Regions from separate parts of the Homo sapiens genome. Here region 1 is linked to region 2. The links are contacts of gene promoters, found by promoter capture Hi-C in blood cells and fetal thymus (Javierre and others, 2016). All regions are on one chromosome and are shown on one strand. The core of a region is centred on a gene start or on the middle of the fragment in contact, and the rest is flanking DNA. Distances in the headings are between cores, read along the strand shown. Region 1 overlaps RFX2 (regulatory factor X2). Region 2 holds the start of ACSBG2 (acyl-CoA synthetase bubblegum family member 2).

Region 1 (5,169 bases), core at 2,048-4,547, 68 kb before region 2:
TTTACTCCACACAGCATTTCCAGATTCACCAAACCACTCTCCGTGCTTGTCCCCTCAGATTACTTCATGTCATGCAGCTGTTCACATCTGGCTTCTTGGCCAGCCAGCCCTTCTTGAGAAAACAAAGTCTGGATCTATGTCATCTCAGCAGCCCCCTCACAGATCCCTCACCCCAACCCCAGACCCTACGTAGCACATTGCCTGCAAAGATGCTCAAGACGTGTTTTGCAATGAACAAGAGAATGAGCAGCCCGCCTGCTCCGGGCTGCTCACCTGTTCTAGCCACCTTCACCATGTTGGCCTCCAGCTCCCGTCTTCAGCTGAGCACAGGGGCCTGTCCCAGGATTCTTGGAAGCGGCTTCCTAAGGCATCATGCTTTTGTGTTCTCCTTCTCTTACCAGCCTTTCTTTCCCTCTCACGTTTCTCTCCCTTTCTGACCATGAGCAGGGCTGCAGTGCAGCTGCTGATGGTCAAGATGAAGATGGGGAATGTGCCAGTGAAAACCTGGCATGCGGAGGCCTCACCTCACTCACCCTCTCCTGTCCCAGCTTCAAAATCTTTCAGAGCGACTCATGCTGCCAGAGGGTGGAGGAGTGGACCTTGAAATGACAAGTGACAGTTCCTCAGCAGTAGCATCTCCTGCTTTCTCAGCCTGGTGACCTGACCCGGCAGCACGCCCACTGGGCACCTGTGCCCACCTGGGGATGGGGTCTCGTCCTGCCTGTGTGACCCTTCCTCCTGACAGCCATCTCTAGAGACAGCCAGTGAGGGCAGGGCAACAGGCAGTGCATGTTCTTTCCACATCTCCATGACTGATTCTGGCCAGGAGGAGGCTGGCTTTCTGGATCCCACCAACATCACATAGGGGACCTTTTCAATCTACCTCCTACCTCCCCTCCAGTCGTGATTTGATTCTGGAATTTAAGAAGCGGAGAAAGAGCCTAGTTCAAATTCAAGAATTTCCATCTAAAACCACAGCATGGAGAGGCCCCTTTAAAAACCACCTAACCCAGCTCTTTCATCAAACAGATGAAGAAACTTACCTAAAGATGTTAAGTGGTTTGCCCAAATTGCAAAGCCTGATATATGGGAAAATACTTCCATGGGAAATAAGAAAATGATAAATTTAAAAAAAATTTTAAATGAGGCTCTAATTCCTGAAAAATGACTTACTTAAACTGGGGACTGGGCAGAAAATAATATTGTAGAAGGTAGAACAGCATTTCTTTGGGAGGATTTATCTTTTTAAGTATATAGTGGTCTTCTACCACTATCCTACAACAGGTTGCAGGACAAATAATGTATTTTAATCTTTGGGGGAGTCTTTGTGTAAGTCAGACCTTATTCATTTTCATTCCAACAACACTCGCAGCCATTGGATCCTAATTATCACATCTAATAAGGCTGATGGCTAATCAGCTTGCCTTTTTAAGAAAAAAAGGCCGGGCACGGTGGCTTATGCCTGTAATCCCAGCACTTTGGGAGGCCGAGGCAGGTGGATCATGAGGTCAGAAGATCGAGACCATCCTGGCTAACACGGTGAAACCCCGTCTCTACTACAAATACAAAAAAATTAGCCGGGTGCGGTGGCGGGCGCCTGTAGTCCCAGCTACTCGGGAGGCTGAGGCGGAAGAATGGCGTGAACCCGGGAGGCGGAGCTTCCTGGGCGACAGAACGAGACTCTGTCTCCAAAAAAAACACAAATGACATTCCATTATAAGTTTCTGCTGCAAAAGAAAGTTGGGAAATTTGTTTAGATACTTTAAATAGTCCTAAGATTAGCTGAAATGCCGGTAACAAACGTGCAATGAACATTTTCTTGGGGGCATTCAGCAACAAAGTGAATCGTCCTTAAAAAAAATCCATACAACTAAAGCGAGTCTCACCACGGGAACCACAGGAGCTGTTTTAGTGAGGGGCTGGAGTGTCTGTTACAGGCGGCACTTTTGCGGCTGTTGCTGCATTAGTCAGATTGCACTCGAGATGAATGAGGAAGAATAAAGTCTTCACCAAAAACCTGTCTTGGCTAACAGTTCTGAATTTATAGCCCTGGCAGTGGGGGCGGGGGCTGGGGGCGGGGCTGGGAGGAGGGGAAGAAATGTGTCACCCGCTCTGAATGAAGTTCAGGGGTGGTGTTTACCTAAGCAACAAACCCTTGTCAACAATCGCTATCTCTGGCTTGCCAGCGGAGGAGGTGGGGGAGTGAGGCTGTTTTGATCAAAATCCAACCTGTGGCTGCAAAGTGCCCATCAACAGGGCACTTTGTTAGTGGGAACGTGCGACCTCTCTTAATAAACATAACATACACATCCCACTGAGGGCCACGGGTGGACCCAACTTCTTAACAGGAACATTGAGCACATGAAACCAGAAGGTGCTGGGTCCAATTTCCACCCTCAGCCAACCCTATCTGTGAATGTCTCTACATGTGAGCCAGCCAGGGCTCAACTCTTTGCTCTTCTGAAATTCTTAGGCAGCAGAAATGAAGGCATCGTGCTGAAAAGCGCTCCAGAAATTGCGGATTTATCAGTGATGTACGGTAGTAGGTTGGACAAGTAATGATTTTCTGAACACCAGGAATTAGATCAAAAAAGAAATTCCACTTAAGACTAAAATAAGTCTCCAGTTGAGAGCAGTCTAGGACATATTCGAATGGCCAGAAGTTTGTTTCAATGGGGCCTCTGCGTTTGTGCAGCCTGGGAGTCAACATTACAATATTGGTTCTTTCAAGCAGATCCCGAGTGGATCCATGTCTGCCTGTTGTGGCAAATCAAACTCAAATTTAATCAGAGAAAAATATATGCAGATGTTCAATTAAAACCTGGAGTCCGCAGTCTTGGCACTGTTTGCCCGGCCCTCATTGTTTGCTAAGTAACAACGGTTGCCAGGGGCAACGCAGTCCACTCCCGTTTCCAAGAGCCTGTTGCTGGGCAACCGGGAGAATACTTCCCAAACCAAACAATGTCATCCCGGAGCAACCCCCTCTATCTCACATTAACCAGATCTAAAAAAAACCCTCTCAAATATGTAATCTATTATTTTCAGAAGCCCTAAGAGAAAGGCAAATAATCTCTTCTCTATAGTAACTGAGGGGAAAACAGTTTACCATATTTGTTCTGAAATAACAAAACCCAAGGAGGAACAACTCTCTCTGAGGTAAGAGGGCATCACAGGAGGGATTTCAATCCTTCCTAGTACTGGGAGGAGAAAGTGCCCTTTTCTCCAAGAGGAAAGAATCTATTTATCATCAAACAAACAATGTGGGAGAGTTCATAGCTGCACAAGTGTTTTCTGGGCGAAGTAAAATGAATCATGGATTAAGCTATTTGGAAAAAAGTGTGAAAACAGAGGAGTTGATACCAAATTAAAACGACTTTTGGAAATATCATGTACGTATGGAACAAGTGCAAAGGGAACCACTGACTCAGCGTCAGAAATGCCTTGTGGGGCTTTGCCGGGAGGGACTTACAGTATATCTTTGACATCACTGCGCCGGCTCTTCCCTCCCTACCCGGAGAGAGGAAGACTTTTCTAAGAGGAAGCCAGGCCACATCAGATGCCCCCAGATGGCAGGACACACAAGGGACACATATCTCCGGAAAGAGGAGGCACATGGTTGGGCAATCTCGACCCATGAAGGGGGAAAAGAAAAGGGCTAAACTGAAGCTAGTGCAGCTTTTGTTCTGCCTGGAGCAGTTCAGGCTGAGCATGGCTTCTCTGAGGCTTTGGGACCAGGAGAGGGTGAAGTGGCACCACCACCTTTCAAGGGGAACACAGAGCTCTAAGCAGTGCTCTTGTTTTTGGTGGGCCCAGCCAAGGATCTTAAAACATTTTGATAGAATGAGCAACATGTAGCTGCAGCCTCGATGGGTCAACATTTTGGATGATAAAAGCACACAATGCTGATAGATTTGTGCATGACCAAGCATACCTTTCAAGGAGCTCTCAGCGGAGGTTTGCCCTTTGAGACAGACACAGTCAGTGCACAGAAACTGTTTTTTTAAGATATCATCCAGGAGTCATTCCTAGAATAGGAATGGAATAGACATGCCTCCCTGAGAAGAAAGGAAGACAGATTCTATACTGTTAGAATTTGAATCTGTGTTGCAGGGAGATGAGGAATTTGAAGCCAGACTCTTGGGCTGTTAATGTATGGCTAAGTGGTGATGTGGTGACAACCTTGAATGCTAGTCCTGGAGGTCAAATCACCAGCAGCTGGTGCCATGGGAGGCTTTGCTTAGGGGACACGGCTGGGTTCTGCCTGGATGCTGCATCCCAAGGGAGGCATTGAGGTGCGGCTGTGAGGACTCCAAACCCCATGTCCAGAAGGATGAGTAACAGAGATCCTGTGTCATTCATTGATTTCAATAAAATATTTATTGGATCCATAGCATGGGCCTGGCATTGACCAGTCATCAAAACACAATTCCCTGCCCTCATGGAGTTTCTATTCTAGACCATGCGGGAGGATAGGAGCATATGGACAGTAAACAAGGTAAGTGAGAAAAATATGTCGTACGTCAGATGACACCCTATATCATATGGTGACAAGTACCAGGGGGAAAAGGAAGCAGACAGAAGGAGTGCTGGGATAGGAAGGGGTTGCAATTTTTAAAGCGTTGTCAAATGCTTCCCTGGGTGGGCTCATTAAAGAGATGAGGAAGGTGTGGGACGGAGCTGTCCAGATATCCTGGGGAAGAGCGTTCCTAATGGAGGGAAAAGCCAGTACAAAGGCCCCGAGGTGGGACAATGCCTGGCTTGAAACTGGAGCTGAGTGAACCAGAAGGCAAGGAGAAAGGCCCACACAGGCCATTGTAGGGGCTCTGGCTTTTGCTTGGGGTAAATGGAAGCCATCACAAGGTTTGAGCCCAGGAATGGCCTGGTTTGACTTGCATTTTAACCAGGCCCCTCTGGCTGCTGGGTTGAGAATAGGGGAAGAAGGAAAAGGGTGGGAGCAGAGAGAGCAATCTGGAGGCTAATGTGATAATCTGGGCAAGGGAGGGGGGCCTGGCTGTGAGCCATGGAGGGGCAAAGCCGTCAGACTCTGGATAAACATAGGAGGTAGAGTCAGCCAGATCTGCTGACGGGTCAAGGGTACCTCCAAGGTTTTTGGCAACTAAAAGGATGAGGTCAGGAAAATTACCCAAGAAAAAGGCCTGGAGAGCACTT
Region 2 (4,714 bases), core at 377-2,876:
GCTGTCCTGGCACAGCTGCCCAGGTGCTCTGCAGAGTAGATATTTGTGAAACATTAAGAAGGCCCTGGTGGCCAGGTGCGGTGGCTACACCTGTAATCCCAGCACCATGGAAGGTTGAGGCGGGTGGATCACCTGAGGCCACGAGGTGGAGACCAGCCTGGCCAACATGGTGAAAACCCATCTCTACTAAAAATACAGAAAATTAGTCGGGAGTGGTGGTGCATGCCTGTAACCTCAGCTACTTGGGAGGCTGAGGCAGGAGAATCGCTTGAACCCGGGAGGCAGAGGTTGCAGTGAGCCAAGATCACGCTATTGCACTCCAGTCTGGGCAACAAGAGCCAAACTCCGTCTCTCTCTCTCTCTCACACACACACACAAAAGGCCCTGGAGACAAAGGAACACTCCTTGTCCTTTTCTCCTGGCACAGCACAAGATTCTGTTGCTACATCTTTATTTACTGAGCATCTAGTATGTGCTGCACCTGGCACTGTTTTGTCTTTTTTGTTTTGAGACAAGGTCTTGCTCTGTAGGCCTGGCTGGAGTGCCATGGTACCATCACAGCTCACTGCAGCCTGGAACTCCTGGGCTCAAACAATCCCCCCACCTCAGCCTCCCTACTAGCTGTGGTTACACTTGCGCACCACCACGCCCGGCTAATTTTTTAAATTTTTCTGTAGAGACGGGGTCTTACTACATTGCCCAGGCTGGTTTTGAACTCCTGGCCTCAAGTGATGCTACGGACTTGGCCTCCCAAAGTGCTGGGATTCCAGGCACAAGCCACTGTGCCTGGTAGTGGACATTGTTAGCAGTGACTAAAGCAGAGAACGAGAAGGGGGAGGCCGCTGTAAACACATGAAGACAGGCAGCGTAAGAGAAAGTCACGAGGGCAGGAATAACATCCAGGCATACTTCAGATCCCAGCTCAAGAAACCACTCCCAGGCCAGGCGCGGTGGCTCACGCCTGTCATCTCAGCACTTTGGGAGGCCAAGGCGGGCGGATCACAAGGTCAGGAGTTTGAGACCAGCCTGGCCAACATGGCGAAACCCCGTCTGTACTAAAAATACAAAAGATTAGCCGGGCGTGGTGGCGGGCGCCTGTAATCCCAGCTACTCGGGAGGCTGAGGCAGGAGAATCGCTTGAACCTGGGAGGCAGACGTTGCAGTGAACTGAGATCGCACCATTGCACTCCAGCCTGGGTGACAGAGCAAGACTCCCGTCTCAAAAAACGAAAGAAAAGAAAGAAACCACTCCCAGACTCCCTGCCTGGGCGGGATCCTTTGATCAAGCCCTCAACATGCCTTGGGGCTCTCTTCACAATGGTAAGTTTGCATTTGTTTGTGTGATTCTAGGCCTCCTCTTATTTTCTTGAACAGGCCTCATCTGGCTTTGTTCATCTTTATGTCTCCAGCATCCAGCACAATCCCTGCCATTAGGGTCATGGCTTCATAAAAACGTCACGAATGCAACGCAGAAGTGCATGCATGCATGAATAAATGAATGATGCATGAAAAGAGCAATCTCCCTGTCCTGGAAGCAGCTTCCCCTAGGGGTGGGGGTGGGGTGCGGAGGCAGGGGCAGCCAGTGATGTCACAAGAGGTGGCTGGGATGGAACGTTCTGGAAGGTTGAATGGGGTAGAAGGCCTGTTGTGGAGGGAAACCACCCATCCTCCTGCCTCCCACCACCACCATCATCCTGGCTGGACGGAGAGGGTGACGGGGGCTGGGAAGGGGCAGCTCATGTTCAGGTTTCCAGGAGGGGCTACCTGTTGACTGTCTTTGCAGGAAGAAGAAAACACCTGAGTGACCAGATGTCCCAGCTCCAGGTGCCTTGCCAGATGGCCAGAACCACACCTCTTGAAGAGTGACAGGTGCCAGTGGTATGGGAGAAGGGCATGCGTTTTCTTTTCTTTTTTTTTTGAGACAGGGTCTCACTCTTTTGCCCAGGCTATAGTGCAGTGGCACGATCTCAGCTCACTGCAACCTCTGCCTCCCAGGCTCAAGTGATACTCCCACCTCAACCTCCCAAGTAGCTGAGATTACAGGCGCCTGCCACCATGTCCAGCTAATTTTTTTTTTTTTTTTGAGACAGAGTCTTGCTCTGTTGCCCAGGCGCAATCTCGGCTCACTGCAAGCTTCGCCTCCCAGGTTCACACCATTCTCCTGCCTCAGCCTCCTGAGTAGCTGGGACTACAGGTGCCTGCCACCATGCCCGGCTAATTTTTTGTATTTTTTAGTAGAGATGGGGTTTCACCACATTAGCCAGGATAGTCTCAATCTCCTGACCTCGTGATCCACCCGCCTTGGCCTCCCAAAGTGCTGGGATTACAGGCGTGAGCCGCCATACTCGGCCTAATTTTTATATTTTTAGTAGAGATGGGGTTTCGCCATACCAGCCAGGCTGGTCTTGAACTTCTGACCTCAGGTGATCCACCCGCCTCGACCTCTCAAAGTGCTGGGATTATAGGCACGCGCCACCATGCCCAGCTAATTTTTGTATTTTTAGTAGAGATGGGGTTTCACCATGCCAGCCAGGCTGGTCTCGAACTCCTGGCCTCAAGCGATCCACCCGACTCAGCCTCCCAAAGTGCTGGGATTACAGGTGTGAGTCACCACATCTGAACCCTACATGGCCTTTTAAAATTGTGAAACATATAATGCATATAAAATAACACAAAGCATATCTGTACGATTTAATGAATAACGATAAATATCTGTGTGCCCTTTTCACTTCGTGAAATCGAATATTACTAGTAACTTACAAGTCCTCTGTAGAGAACTCCTGAGCTCAAGTGATCCACCTGCCACGGCCTCCCAAAGTGCTGGGATCACAGGTGTGAGCCTCCGCACCCGGCCGATCGTGTGATTTTTAACGTGCAGTTCCCTGATGACCAAAGCTACTGAGCATCTTGTCCAGGATTTGTAGCCCTTTCCAGGCTCCTTTTTTGTGAACTGCCTGTTTACATTTTTCATCATAAAACACTGGGTTGTTTACATTTGTCTTTTAAATCCAGAGTTCTTTTCATACTCCGGATACTAATTTTATTTGCCCATTTTGCATTGCCATAAAGTAATACCTGAAGATGGGCAATTTATAAAGAAAAGAGGGGCCTGGTGTGGTGGCTCACACCTGCAAATCCCAGCACTTTGGGAGGCCGAGGTGGCGGGGTTGGGGGGGGGGGGGGGGCTTGCTTGAGGCCAGGAGTTCAAGACCGGCCTGGGCAATATAGCGAGGCCCCCAGCTCTACAAAAATAAAAATAAAAATAAATTAGCCAGGCGTAGTGGCATGCTTCTGTAGTCCCAGCTATCTGAGGGGAAGAGAGTTCCAGGCAGAGGGCACAGCCCGTACGAAGGCCCCAAGGAAGGACTGCACCTGGTGAGTTGGAAGAACAGTGAGGAGGCCCACGTGGCTGCAGCAGAGTGAGGAGGGGGAGGGAGGAAGGAGGAGAGCACAGGGAGGTGCAGGGCCTTGTGGACCGTGGGGAGAACTTGCGCTTTTACCTGGAGGGAGGTGGGAGCCATGGAGGGCTGCAGGCAGAGGAGAGACAGGGTTGGGCCAGCATTTCACTTTTTTATTTTTATTTATTTATTTATGTATTTATGTATTTATTTATTTATTTATTTTTGAGATGGAGTTTCACTCTTATCTCCCAGGCTGGGGTGCAGGGCGAGATCTCTGCTCACTGCAACCTCTGCCTCTTGGGTTCAAGCAATTCTCCCACCTCAACCTCCTGAGTAGCTGGGATTACAGGTGCCTGCCGCCGTGCCTGGCTAATTTTTGTGTTTTTAGTAGAGACAGGGTTTCACCGTGTGAACCATGGCCAGGCTGGTCTCGAACTCCTGACCTCAGGTGATCCACCCGCCTCGGCCTCCCAAAGCACTGGGATTACAGGCATGAGCCACCATGCTTGGCATTCATTTTTATTTGTAAACACTTTTATCGTGGAAAGTTTCAAACACAAAAGTAGAGCTGATCATAACATAAGCCCCCAGCTACCTATCACTCGGCTCCAACTTAAAGTCAGCCTTGGTCATTTCTGTGTCACCCCACTCCTCGTGGGTAGTTTTAAAGCAAGCACCAGACAGTGTGTTCTTTCATGCATGAATCCTTTGGCAACAAGGATTCCTTTCTCTAACTTCACCCCAAAGCAATTATCATACTTTAAGGAAGTAAACATCCCCTCTTCATTTCTTCATGTCGTCTGAGACACAGTCAGTGGTGGAGTTCTTGGCGGCCTCGTGCACATCTTGTTTGAATTGAGATCTAGCAGAACCCACAATGCGCCTGGGTGATGGGCCTCTCACGTGACCAGGACCTCTCAGGCTCCTGGGAGGAAGCTTAGGTCCAGGCAGGCGGAGAGAGTGGATCCCATTTTGAAGGCTGAGCTGATGGAATTAGCTAATGAGTCAATGTGCTAGGAAGAGAGAGGGAGAGAGAGAGGGGAAGGGGGAAGGGGGAGGGAGGGAGGGAAAGAGGAAGGAGGAAAAGGAAGGAAGGGGAGGGAGGGAGGGAGGAAGGAAGGAAAGAAGGGAGGGAGGGAAGGAAAGAGGGAAGAGAGAGGGAGGAAGGAAGGAAGGAAGGGGAGGAAGAAAGAAAGGAAGGGAAGGGAAGAAGGAAGAAAGAAAAGGCAGGGACGGAGGGAGGAAGGAAGAGAGGGGAAGAACGAAGGGAGGAAAGAAGGAAGGGAGGGAGAGAGGAAGGGTAGGAGAATGGG

Evidence for each region. Contacts are between HindIII fragments. The CHiCAGO score rates a contact against its expected background, and 5 or more counts as called.
Region 1: a contact is called between a fragment that was not itself captured here and the fragment with the promoter of ACSBG2 in region 2, in 2 of 17 cell types (monocytes and neutrophils). The highest score is 5.2, in monocytes.

Annotation. Positions count from the first base shown.
Region 1 is chr19:6,063,925-6,069,093 of GRCh38, forward strand. The region is part of intron 1 of RFX2 (regulatory factor X2); the gene reads right to left. All of the region lies in intron 1 of RFX2-AS1 (RFX2 antisense RNA 1), which reads left to right. Among named protein-coding and RNA genes, the nearest start is that of RFX2-AS1, 3.9 kb to the left of the region's middle. RefSeq lists enhancers at 1,958-2,459, 1,974-2,268. The HindIII fragment of the contact is 9,198 bases long and covers 1-5,169 here.
Region 2 is chr19:6,134,041-6,138,754 of GRCh38, forward strand. ACSBG2 (acyl-CoA synthetase bubblegum family member 2) reads left to right here and starts at 1,627. Exons shown (of 15, transcript NM_030924.5): 1 at 1,627-1,869. All of the region lies in intron 3 of LOC105372255 (a long non-coding RNA gene), which reads right to left. RefSeq lists enhancers at 591-1,494, 1,495-2,397. The HindIII fragment of the contact is 9,635 bases long and covers 1-2,131 here.